Linked DNA regions of Homo sapiens: region 1 is linked to region 2. Evidence: promoter capture Hi-C in 16 types of primary human blood cells and fetal thymus (Javierre and others, 2016). All regions are on one chromosome and are shown on one strand. Each heading gives the region's core, a stretch centred on a gene start or on the middle of the fragment in contact. The rest is flanking DNA. Distances are from core to core; before and after follow the strand shown. Region 1 has its middle 87 kb from the start of RAB27B. Region 2 holds the start of RAB27B (RAB27B, member RAS oncogene family).

The links. Contacts are between HindIII fragments. The CHiCAGO score rates a contact against its expected background, and 5 or more counts as called.
Region 1: a fragment that was not itself captured here is called in contact with the fragment with the promoter of RAB27B in region 2 in 1 of 17 cell types (megakaryocytes); the score reaches 5.5 in megakaryocytes.

Annotation. Positions count from the first base shown.
Region 1 is chr18:54,738,192-54,744,033 of GRCh38, reverse strand. It overlaps a transcript of RAB27B not described here. Among named protein-coding and RNA genes, the nearest start is that of RAB27B, 87 kb to the left of the region's middle. The HindIII fragment of the contact is 1,057 bases long and covers 2,229-3,285 here.
Region 2 is chr18:54,824,810-54,829,920 of GRCh38, reverse strand. RAB27B (RAB27B, member RAS oncogene family) reads right to left here and starts at 1,444. Exons shown (of 6, transcript NM_004163.4): 1 at 1,221-1,444. The HindIII fragment of the contact is 8,053 bases long and covers 1-4,854 here.

The DNA.
Region 1 (5,842 bases), core at 1,508-4,007, 87 kb after region 2:
CCAAATTATCTCGAGGGATGATTGCTGGATATAAATTACATCAGAATCACTCCTCTAGGCACTGGTTTTCACCACTAACATCTCTTGTCTGGACTGTGATGTGATATCTCTGTAACTGGTCTGTGCTTCTCCCCACCTCCCTTACGGTCGATTTCCTAAGGGCACTCAAGTGAACCATTAACACGTGACAGAGCATGTCTCTTATTTTTCCCACCTCTTCAAGGGTTTCTCATCTCACTGGGCATAAAGGCCACAGTTCTATCAAGGATCTATGAGCTGATTCGCTCTGTCCACTCTGGCTCTTTGTTGTGTATCTGATCTCACCTCCTATTACTCTCCTCTCTCCCTCTTTATTCTAGCCATATTTACCTTCTTGCTCTTCCTGGAATGTGACAAACACACTGCTATGCAAGGACCAGGCATCCACCAGTCATCATTCCCTCTGCCTTAGGTGCTTTTTCCCGCATTTATTGTCTGAATGGCTCATTCCCTCACTGATCTCAGGACTCTGCCTAAGTTCCACATGGACTGAGTTTTCCTCACTCATGATTCAATGGAAATCAGCTCCTACTCTCTCGGCCCTTGATCTTCATTAATTATTCACATCTGACATATTATAGCTGCATTTCCATATTTGCATTGTACTGTCTGGAGCTCCAAGATAACAGGAACTCTATTATCAGCCCCTAGAAGAGGATCTGATTCATAGTAGGAACTCAATCAATATGGGCTGAATGAATAATAGAATACCACCACAAAAAGAGCTTCTAATTCAGTTATGTTAATATAGTGACATAAAATGCTGAAAATTACAGTGACACAAAATGTTGAAAACTACAGTATGTAAAAGCTAAATAGCACAATAGCTGAATGAGATGCTGCAGAGTAGTGTGGAATTAAGGACCAGATACAAAATCATTGGCTTAGGCAATAAGAGTGGGTGTCCAAGAATGCTTGAGATTATGTTATACAGGACCAGGAAGAAAAGTGATCTTCTCTGTTTCTATCTAGGCTTGAAAATCTTGTTCCAAATTGGAAGACACACTTCTGAGGATTGCCAGCAACTTCTGCAGGCTTCCAAAAGTAGTACATGGTCTGGTCATCCTGCCAAAAGCTGACCTCACAGGGTGAGTTGACATAGATGCAAAATTTGCAAGGCTTTCCTGCACACTTTAGGAGTCATGAGCCCTATTATCAAGGTCCTGGGATATGGCCAACATCCACAGAGGAAAGCACAGTGTTATGCAACTGGAAGCTTTTGGTCTTCATATGCAAGTGGGCAGCATCCTCCTTGTGGTTAGACTCCAGGGATTTGCTGTTTTCTGTCTCACAGTCTAGAAACATAGAAAATCTGGAAGCCAGACTGCCTTACACCTACCACTCAGCTGTCTTCAGGGCACTTGTTCTCATAATTACTTGCTTTATACTCAGAAAATGCAAATAAACTTGATTATTAGCAGAGGCAAAACACAGAAATGAAGGCCAATCTATTGCAGACATAGCAAATGTATTCTTAGTAAATAAATTACAAATGATTTAAATGACCTTATACTTTATAACATTTGTATGACTGACCCCAACTTCCTCCTGCCTTCCGTTCTGATAGATTTAAGTAACATCATGTACATGTACTTTTAGGTTTTTGAAAAACAAGCTAGGATGCTTATAAACTCAGAAAGATGAAACTGCTTCCAGGCAATTTAATCATCAAATAAACCGCATGTACGATAATGACTTCAACACTGTATTCCACCCACCATTACGACTGCCAGAAAGGTCTCTCCTGTAAGTTTCCTGAAGGACAGTGTTACAAGAGGCTTACAGTTTCCTCCAGGGTGATAATTAAGTCATTTTGCAAACAATTGCCTTAAAGGCTTTCTCCTGGTCATTTGTCCTAATCAGAAAAATAAGACTGCTTTAGATTCTCTTTCCCTTTCAAGCTTTGCATATGAAAACATTCACTCCTCTATGAAAAGCTGCATTAACTTTTACACTGAAATATACTTTTATTTGTAGCACAAGCCTTCAGGCCAAAACAAACCCCTTAAGACTGATTTTGCCAGAAGGTAGAATGTCAGAATCCTCAGAGCTTGTTTTTGCAAGTATTTAACTCTAGACTATGTCTTCAGATATTATAGAGGCCTTGACTTCTTACCTACTGCCAGCTTAGGCAAAAGGAGAACTAAGCCATTGCCAGGAGGTAGGTCACTTTTTACTTAAAGAAAGCTTAGAGGCCAGGTACAGTGGTTCACCCCTGTAATCTCAGCACTTTGGGAGATGGAGGTGGGTGGACTGCTTGAGCCCAGAGTTCAAGACCAGCTTGGGCAACATGGTGAGACCCTCTCTCTACAAAAAATACAAACAAACAAAAAATTAGCTGGGCATGGTGGTGCATGCCTGTAATCCCAGCCACTTGGGAGGCTGGGGTGGGAGGATGGCTTGAGCCCAAGAGTCAGAGGTTGTAGTGAGCTGAGATTGTACCACTGCACTCCAACCTGTGCAACACAGCGAGGCCCTGTCTCAAAAAAAGAAGAAAAAAAGAGCTTAGAGTTCTTGGTTCAGCAGCACAGTACATAAGATTGGAATGATTCTTAGTAGCTTCTCATGGCCACTATATTTCTTAAAAGCCAGATGCACAACAGTGAACTTAGTATACTAACTTTTTTGTGACAAAAGGGAGGAAATAATATACATTCATCTTTGACTGTATTGGCAAATGGAAACACTGAATAGGTGATAAACCTCTTTAGCTTTAAGGAACAGGGCTGTGGGTGACATGGTGGGATGGGCGGAGGAATGTAGGTGAGTGTTCTAATGTTGTCCTTTTGTATTTTTCAAGTTTTGATTTACTAATTCAAAATTTAAAGGGTCTCATAGGAAGATATGGTCTTAGTAACATTTAACTGTATTTTACCTTATCTTTGAAAATTATTGTGATACCACTTGCCTCTTAGGTTTTGTATGCTAGGGACACTATTTAGTATCCATGACTTCCGGAATAAATGCTTTTTATGAAAGTAGGTTATTAGATTATCATCATGACCAAAAACCTAGGTAGAGTTTATTGAAAATAAAGACCAAGTTTTAGTCTTGTCATATGTTTTCATCAATTTCTCAGCCTCCTTTCTTCTGTTAATAAAAATGCACTAGCAGTAAAATCTCCTCATTTCATTCTTTATATTATCTATCTATCGATCTATCATCTATCTATCTATCTATCATCTGTCTATGTCTATCTATCACTTAGTGAGAGCCTGCTATATACTGGCTTATATATCCCAAGCTTTACATTTTACAAATGAAGGAAGCTGTGGCTCAGAACTTTTAAGAGACTTGCCAAAGTTGCTGATCCAGCATGTATACCTAGATCTAACTAATTAGAAAGCTCTCACTGTGCCAACAGGACCACTTTAGCCACTCCTAGGTCATGATTCTACTTGAGAGAAAGTGACATGTTGACTGGAGACATTCCACTGTCAAGCTGTGGAAACTCAGGCAGGTATCCTATAAATAAAACATTGGAAAGAAGGTCCTCATTTCCTTTCTTGTTCTAATATCCAGATGAGTTACGTTAGATTGCTCTCTTTAATAAAAATAGGTTCTGGAAATTTGTGTTGGAAAAAATGGTCTGAATACTAAAATGTTTATTCAACGTAAGGATTGCAAGAATGACTCATCATTTCCTTCATATCCCTGAGGCTCTATAACTCTTTCTATTTAGACATCTAAGGGGTTAGGAGGACAATGTCTGAGAATTGTTTCATTATCTGGGGATGAGCTAATAGAAACTATAAGAAATAATCATTCTTATAGGAAGATCCTTAACATTACTGCCTTATCCAGAATCAATCAAGTAACTGAATTTTAATAATTGTAGCCATGAGATGAATTCTTCCTCCATGAACTTGTTACCAGACCATGAACAAACCATAAAAGACAATAATAGGTAAGTGGGACTATATCAAATTAAGCTGTTATGAAAATAAAGAGGCAAGCTGCAGAATGAGAGAAGAACATATTTGCAATACATATATCTTACAAACAATTTGTATCCAGAATATATAGATAACTCTTACACATCTACATGGGCAAATGATTTGAGTAGACATTTCTCAAAAGAAAATATATGAATGTCTAATAAGCTCACATAAAGAAGCTCAATACCATTAGGACTTCGAAGAAATGCAAATTAATCACAGTGAGATACCACTACATACCCACTAGAAGGGTTAAACTTAAAAATATTAAGAATACGAAATGCTGATGGGAATGTGGAGAAACTATTTGTACTGGAGAAAGTAAAATGCAACAATCACTTTGGAATAAAATTTGGCAGCTTCTTACAAAGCTAAATGTACACTTAGCATGTGGCTCAGCCATTCCACTCTTAGGTATTCACCAAGAGAAATAAAAATGTGCCACACAAAGATTTGAAGATCAAAGGTCATAGCAACTTTATTCATAGCAGCAAAAAAAAAAAAGAAAGAAAAAAAGAAAGAAAGAATTTAAGGGTACATCAACAGGAGAATGGATTTTAAAAAGGTAGTATTTCTTTCTTTCTTTTTTTTTTTTTTTTTGAGATGGAGTTTCGCTCTTGTTGCCCAGGCTGGAGTGCAATGGCAGGATCTCAGCTCACTGTAACCTCCGCCTACCAGGTTCAAGCAATTCTTATGCCTCAGCATCCCAAGTAGATGGGATTACAGGCACCCACCACCACGCCTGGCTAACTTTTTGTATTTTTAGTAGGGATGGGGTTTCACCATGTTGGCCAGGCTGGTCTGAAACTCCTGACCTCAGGTGATCCACCCGCTTCAGCCTCCCAAAGTGCTGGGATTACAGGCATGAGCCACCACACCTGGCCAAAAGGTAGTATTTCTATATGGTGGAATACTATTGAGTACTAATAAATTAAAATGAAACAACACACAGCAAAACTCAAAAACATGACATGGAGTGAAAGCAGACATACACAAAAGCATACATATTGTATGATGCATTTATATGTAATTCCACAGAAGGCAAATCAACTTGCAGTGACAAATAGCATATTAAAGGCAGCCCAAGGCTAGGGTTGACTGCAAAGAAGCATCAGGGAAATTTGGGGGGTGATAATATTCTCTATCTTGAAGACACCCATAGTTACACAGAGATATACATTTCTCAAGACTCATTGAGTTGTACAATTAAAATAAATGAGGCTTATTTTAGGTAAAGTATATTATAACAAAATTGTTTCATGAAAAACATTCAAGTAAGTTTTGTTCCACAACTAGCAAAAGGTGCAGATCAAATTAAAAAACAGATGAATGTGGTTATGTTCTAAAAAGGGATTTAAGGTAGAGGTACGTTATGGAAAAATCTGATTGCAATGTCTGGGATATGATAGGTGTATTAGTCCATTTTCACACTGCTGTAAAGAACTTCCCTGGGACTGGGTAATTTATAAAGAAAGGGGTTTAATTGACTCACAGTTCTGCATGGGTGGGGAAGCATCAGGAAACTTACAATCATGGTGGAAGGGGAATCAGGCATGTTTTACATGGCAGCAAGTGAGAGAGACAGCAAGAGAGGAAACCGCCACTTAAAAAACCATCAGATCTCACGAGAACTGATTCACTATCACGAGAACAGCATGGGAGAAACCACCCCCATGATCCAGTCACCTCCCACCAGATCCCTCCCTCAATACATGGGGATTATGGGGATTATAATTTGAGATGAGATTTGGGTGGGGACACGGAGCCCAACCATATCAATGGGTGATCAACAAATATTCATTTCCTCCTCTTTTCCAGTTATTCTTATGTGGAAAATGTAAGCAATGTATTCAAAGGCAGTCAGC
Region 2 (5,111 bases), core at 195-2,694:
TTTTGGTCATTGGTAGGAATCACCTCTTGCCTTCAAGGATGGCTGACCCCATCTGGGTAGAGGATTATGCTAGGAAACTATGAAAAATAACTATTTGAGGGGCAATGGCACATGACAGGTATGTCTCTCTCTTCATCACTGCAATATGGACTTTACAGCAGCTTGAAAATTCATTAAACTTAAATATCTGAGTTTATATTAATGCTTAAGTCTATCCTTTCCCTCAACTTTTCAAAATTTATAACCATAAAACCCTGTATATTCTATATATGAATGAATATGTGTGAATATAACTAAATATTGAGAACTGTAGACATTTTTCTTATAAACAGAACAAAATCAAAATTCAGAGCTGTATTATATTAAACAATAATTTTGTTGTTAATAACCTTGAAATTTATGTTATTACTTTGGGCTTAATTTAATGATGTGCAGTTTAAAACAACTGGAATTACATACCCTTAGCTTTACATCTTGACATAAAAAACTCACAAAACATGATACAGGTGTGAAGGCTCTAACCAAACACAGCTTTTTCCTAGGAATGCAGTCTCTGCTTACAGTTCACCTACTTCAGTAGTTTTCAGAGGCTTAATTAATGTTGCATTGGGTGGGAAAGTCTTGAAAGCTAATTTATTGTGATCAGTTGGGTGAACACACATGCACACATATACCCTAGTTGGTGCAACACTTAGATCAGAATTCGAAAGTAACAGAGCAAAAAATTGGAAAACAGAAAGTACTCTTAAGGTCTCTGTGGCTATTTCATCTAAGGAAGTGCATATAAATGTCTTATTGCTCTCCTGGCTTGCCTCACTAAGTCGCTCCTCCTGGAATGAAACTCTGAGCACATCATCATCCATGCTTTTTCTTATTCATTATTTTGATTGTTTTTTGAGATGCAAATGAAAGGAAATTGGCATTGCTGTGCCTAGGCTTTTTGTTTTTCTTTTTGCTTTTTTTGGTGGTAACCAGCTGTTTGATAAGCAAACACTCAAGGAGAGCCAGGTCGAGTTGGCCCATGCCATCCGTGCAGCACACAGCACTACTGTCTTCTTTGCAAGGATTTCTGCTGGAAACCGCGATCGAAGGTGCACACGCACTCACACATGCACACACACACACACAGAGGCCTCACTTCCCACGGCGCAGGCCGGCGCTGCAGCACCCGGGTGGGTGGGAACGCGTTCCAGCAGCAGCAGCCCGCCTTCCCAACTCACCAGCCTGCGAAGTTTCCTTGCCGGGAGAGCAGGTGTCAGATTTCAGAGAGGTTTCCTTCCCCTTCCCAAGCCCTGGAACTCCCGGGCTCCACCGTCAGCAAGGAGACAGGATCTGCTCCACAGGGCGATGAGCACGGGGACAGCTACTTATCTCCTCCAACCTGTGGCTCCGGATGGGTCCAAGGCCGGGCGGTCCGCAGCCCCTGCCCGTCAGGACTGCGAGTGGCAGGGCTGGTGGCACCACCCTCGGAGTCCGCCGCGGCGGCGGGGCTGGGTAAGGTTTGTGTGAGAAGAAGGCGTGTCTGCAAGTCCCAACGCGGATGTGCGGAGCTCACCTCAGGCAAGTCTTGCTGGTGACTCAACTGCTGCAGTGAGAAACACACTCCTCTCGGGGATGAAGTCTCCACACTGTGGGGCTTCTAGCCTTACCAGCGAGCTCATTTTTATTCATTTTTGTTCTGTGTTTTCTTTGATGTCTCTCATTCAAAGAGCCCAGGGCGCTGTGAGAACTGGGGCCCTGACATTGCGTTCTCTCCTCCGAGGGGGTGTCTCATTAACTATGAGGAGTGAAGGCGAGGGATTGCGAGTGGGGAGCAGAGGATGGCCTCGGGAAATAAAAGAGGGCGTTGGAAAGAAATTAATATTTTAAAAGTTAGGATGTGTTCGTATGAATGCATTAATCAGTATGCAACATCCAAATTCACTTCCCAAAGCCCTAATTCACTTCCTAAAGTCACTTCAGAGATCAATAGGTTACCACTAAGTAAGATAATGAGCACACGGAGGCATTGAACCAGTATTTGTTAAGCACCTACTATGTGCTATGCCGTGTTCTAAACACATTAGATTCGTCCACAAAGCAAAGATCCTGGCTGCCCATCTTGGGATTCCATTTTAGACACATTCAGACATCCCTAATTTACAGACTGGTAGTAAAGGTAAGAATACAAGGTTAGGTACATTATAATAACAACCGATTTACTCCTCTGTGAACAAAATTTAAAAGTTCCAAACCTGTGTCTTGCATTCATGTTAGTAAACAACGAGATGCCAATGACTGCTTGAATTTTAATTACTTAACTTGTTTCTTATTCGATGCCCTAGAGACAATCTGGGAGGCACTGCTGTTATCAGCTCCCAGAGAATTTCTTGTAGAAGGGAGCAAAGGAATAGCCCAAACCAAAACACAAAACAAACAATAGCAAACTAGTGGAAAAATGGAATATTAGAGAAAACATTTTGGTCTCATAGAAATCTGTCTATTCTATTATGAAACTATTAAAGAAGTTCTATTTTATGTCCTTCAATGTTCTTGAAAGTTGAAAAGAAGAGTAATAATAATGTCTTCATAGTGTTATTGTGAAGAATTGACTTCATATCAGTAATGTGTGTAGAACGTGCCTGGCACAGTAAGTTCTATGAATGTGTTGGCTATACTTATAATTTTGGTAACAATCTATTCCATTCTCCCCAAGTAAGATCCAGTTCCTAAAAATTATTTTGGATCTACTGCATAAAAGTCTTTGAGGCTCAGCCTGTAGATTTTCAAAGTATGTATGCTTGGAATCTATATTTATGATAAATCTACTTTGCATTTAACAGCAATATCTAAGTATATAAGAAGTGTGTGTCCATGGGCCCAGACAGAAATAAAAGAAAGAACATAAGAGCCTTGAATCTTTTCCACTGTTAACACATTGACTTAAAATCACCCTCTGTGCTATACAATGATAACCCATATTCTTTATCTAGTTCATGTGTTCACTACTGACATTAGTCCTAATAGCTATTATTTCCTGTATGCAATAGAGTTTCATCTCATTTGGCTTTCACAACATTACTGTGAAATAGGCAAGGCGTCTATTATATTTATTGTCTCCATTTTCAGAATGAGGTAACTGAGGTTGAGAAAGTCGCAGTAAATCTGTCCAAAGTGATGAAGTTCAAAAGGTGGAAGACAGGTCTATTGATCCTGAATGCCGAGCTCACAGTGGTCACTGTGTTGTACTACCTCACTGCAACTTCTAGAAAAGGTTCCTGCCATAAGAAAATCTGACACACACATTTATTGATGACTCTCCTTGCCACCTTTCCCTAGATAAGTGTGTCACCTGCTTTATAGGGCCAACTCTTGCAGGGATAGCTCTCCTGGAGTGACTTGCCACATATGGTCCTGTCTCCGAGGTTCCAAGGCTCAGATTCAGTAGTGTTACATAGTGACACTACCAGAGAGTGGTGGAACATTTCCTTCCCTGGGAAGAGGGGTTCCAAGGAAGAGAAAGAGTAGGAAGACATAAGAGAAATGTTGCTTGGCCACTCCATGAAGGCCACTTTGACCAGAGGTAGAGCAGAATAAAAAACAGTGGAAAACCAGTGAAAACAAGGTGACAGCATTGTGTGTCATGATAATAATAGTAATAACATCTTCCTGTACCTGGAGTTTATGTAGCATAACTTAAGTAGACATAACATCTGTCTAATTCAATCAATATGGCACTGAGGTAAACATTAATGTACATGGGGTGATGTGTAGTTACAAATGGCAAGATTATCACATGTATTTCATCTCTCCTCAAACTGCTTTATTACAAGAATAAATGAATTTTTTTAAATGTTATTGAATCACAAAGACAAATAAGCAGATAAAATAACACATAAACTTGTAATGAATTTTGGAAGAAGCTAAATCAGATGCAGGCGTGGTAACTGATTTGGAAGAGCAGAGGATTCTATACACTGCATGCCTGCAGGAGAGATTATGGTAAAAAGCAAGCCAATTCTTCCTGCAAAACCTGGGCAGGCTCAGGCCTAGGAGGCAGAAATCTCAGCATAGAAGGAGGCCAGGTGGTGGGGTAAACACAGGGGTTTGGTTATACGTCTGTATATTGGAATGCTTGGACCCAGAGTTCCCTTCCCCACTGTCACACAATCAACCAACCATAAGTTCCTCCATCTGCTCAATCCAGCTTCCAGGAGACTGGAGGTTTATTTTCTGGAGAAAGTAAACTAGAGTAATTTGTGGTTCAACAAGATGAACTGAACACATGCCTTTTTACCCTGCTCCTAGAGATAATGAATAAAAAAGAAATTTATATACAAAACAGGAAAAAAATCTTTTGAAATTGAAAATATACTCAACATTTACAAAAAAACTGACAGATGGGTTAGAAGACTAAGTTGAAAAATCTATTTAGCTGCAGAAAATTTTCAAAAAATGGAAAAAAATTCTGACTAATGGAAATCTCAGAAAGCTCTAGAAAAGACTTCTTTCTATGCAGAAAAGGATAAAAACACTAATTTGAAAACAATGCAAAAACAATACCAGAAATGAAGATGATGAACTTTGGAGATCGAAAGTTTCACTAAACGTCCAGGAAAACAATCCTTTAAATTAATCAAATAATTAAACTCATCGAAATATATCATTCTGAGATAAAATAAATGCAGGAATAAAGAGAAAAACCTAAAACATCTTCCAGAGACATAAAGCAGATCACATACAAGGAAAAAAAATTGCATTGGATTTCTCAAGAGCAATAATGGATCCAGAAGTTTCTTTGAATGCCTTCACATTTTTTAAATGAAATTATTTTGAACTTAGAATTGTATATCAAGACAAACTGTCAGCCAAGCTTGATTTTAAAAAATTTTCAGATATGCAAGGACTTAAAAAATATACATCCTGTGTGCCATTTTAAAGTAACAGTTCCCCAAACAAGCTTATAAATCAAGAAAGAGGAAGAGATGAAACCCCAAAAATGCAGGCCCAACATAAGAGGCAGTAAAATAAATTCTCCAGAGCAATAAGTGTGAAGCAGGCCTAAAGAGAGGTGAACAGATGGCTTGCAGTAGGAATGTCTCCAAGAAAAAAAAAAATGGAAAGAAAATGAT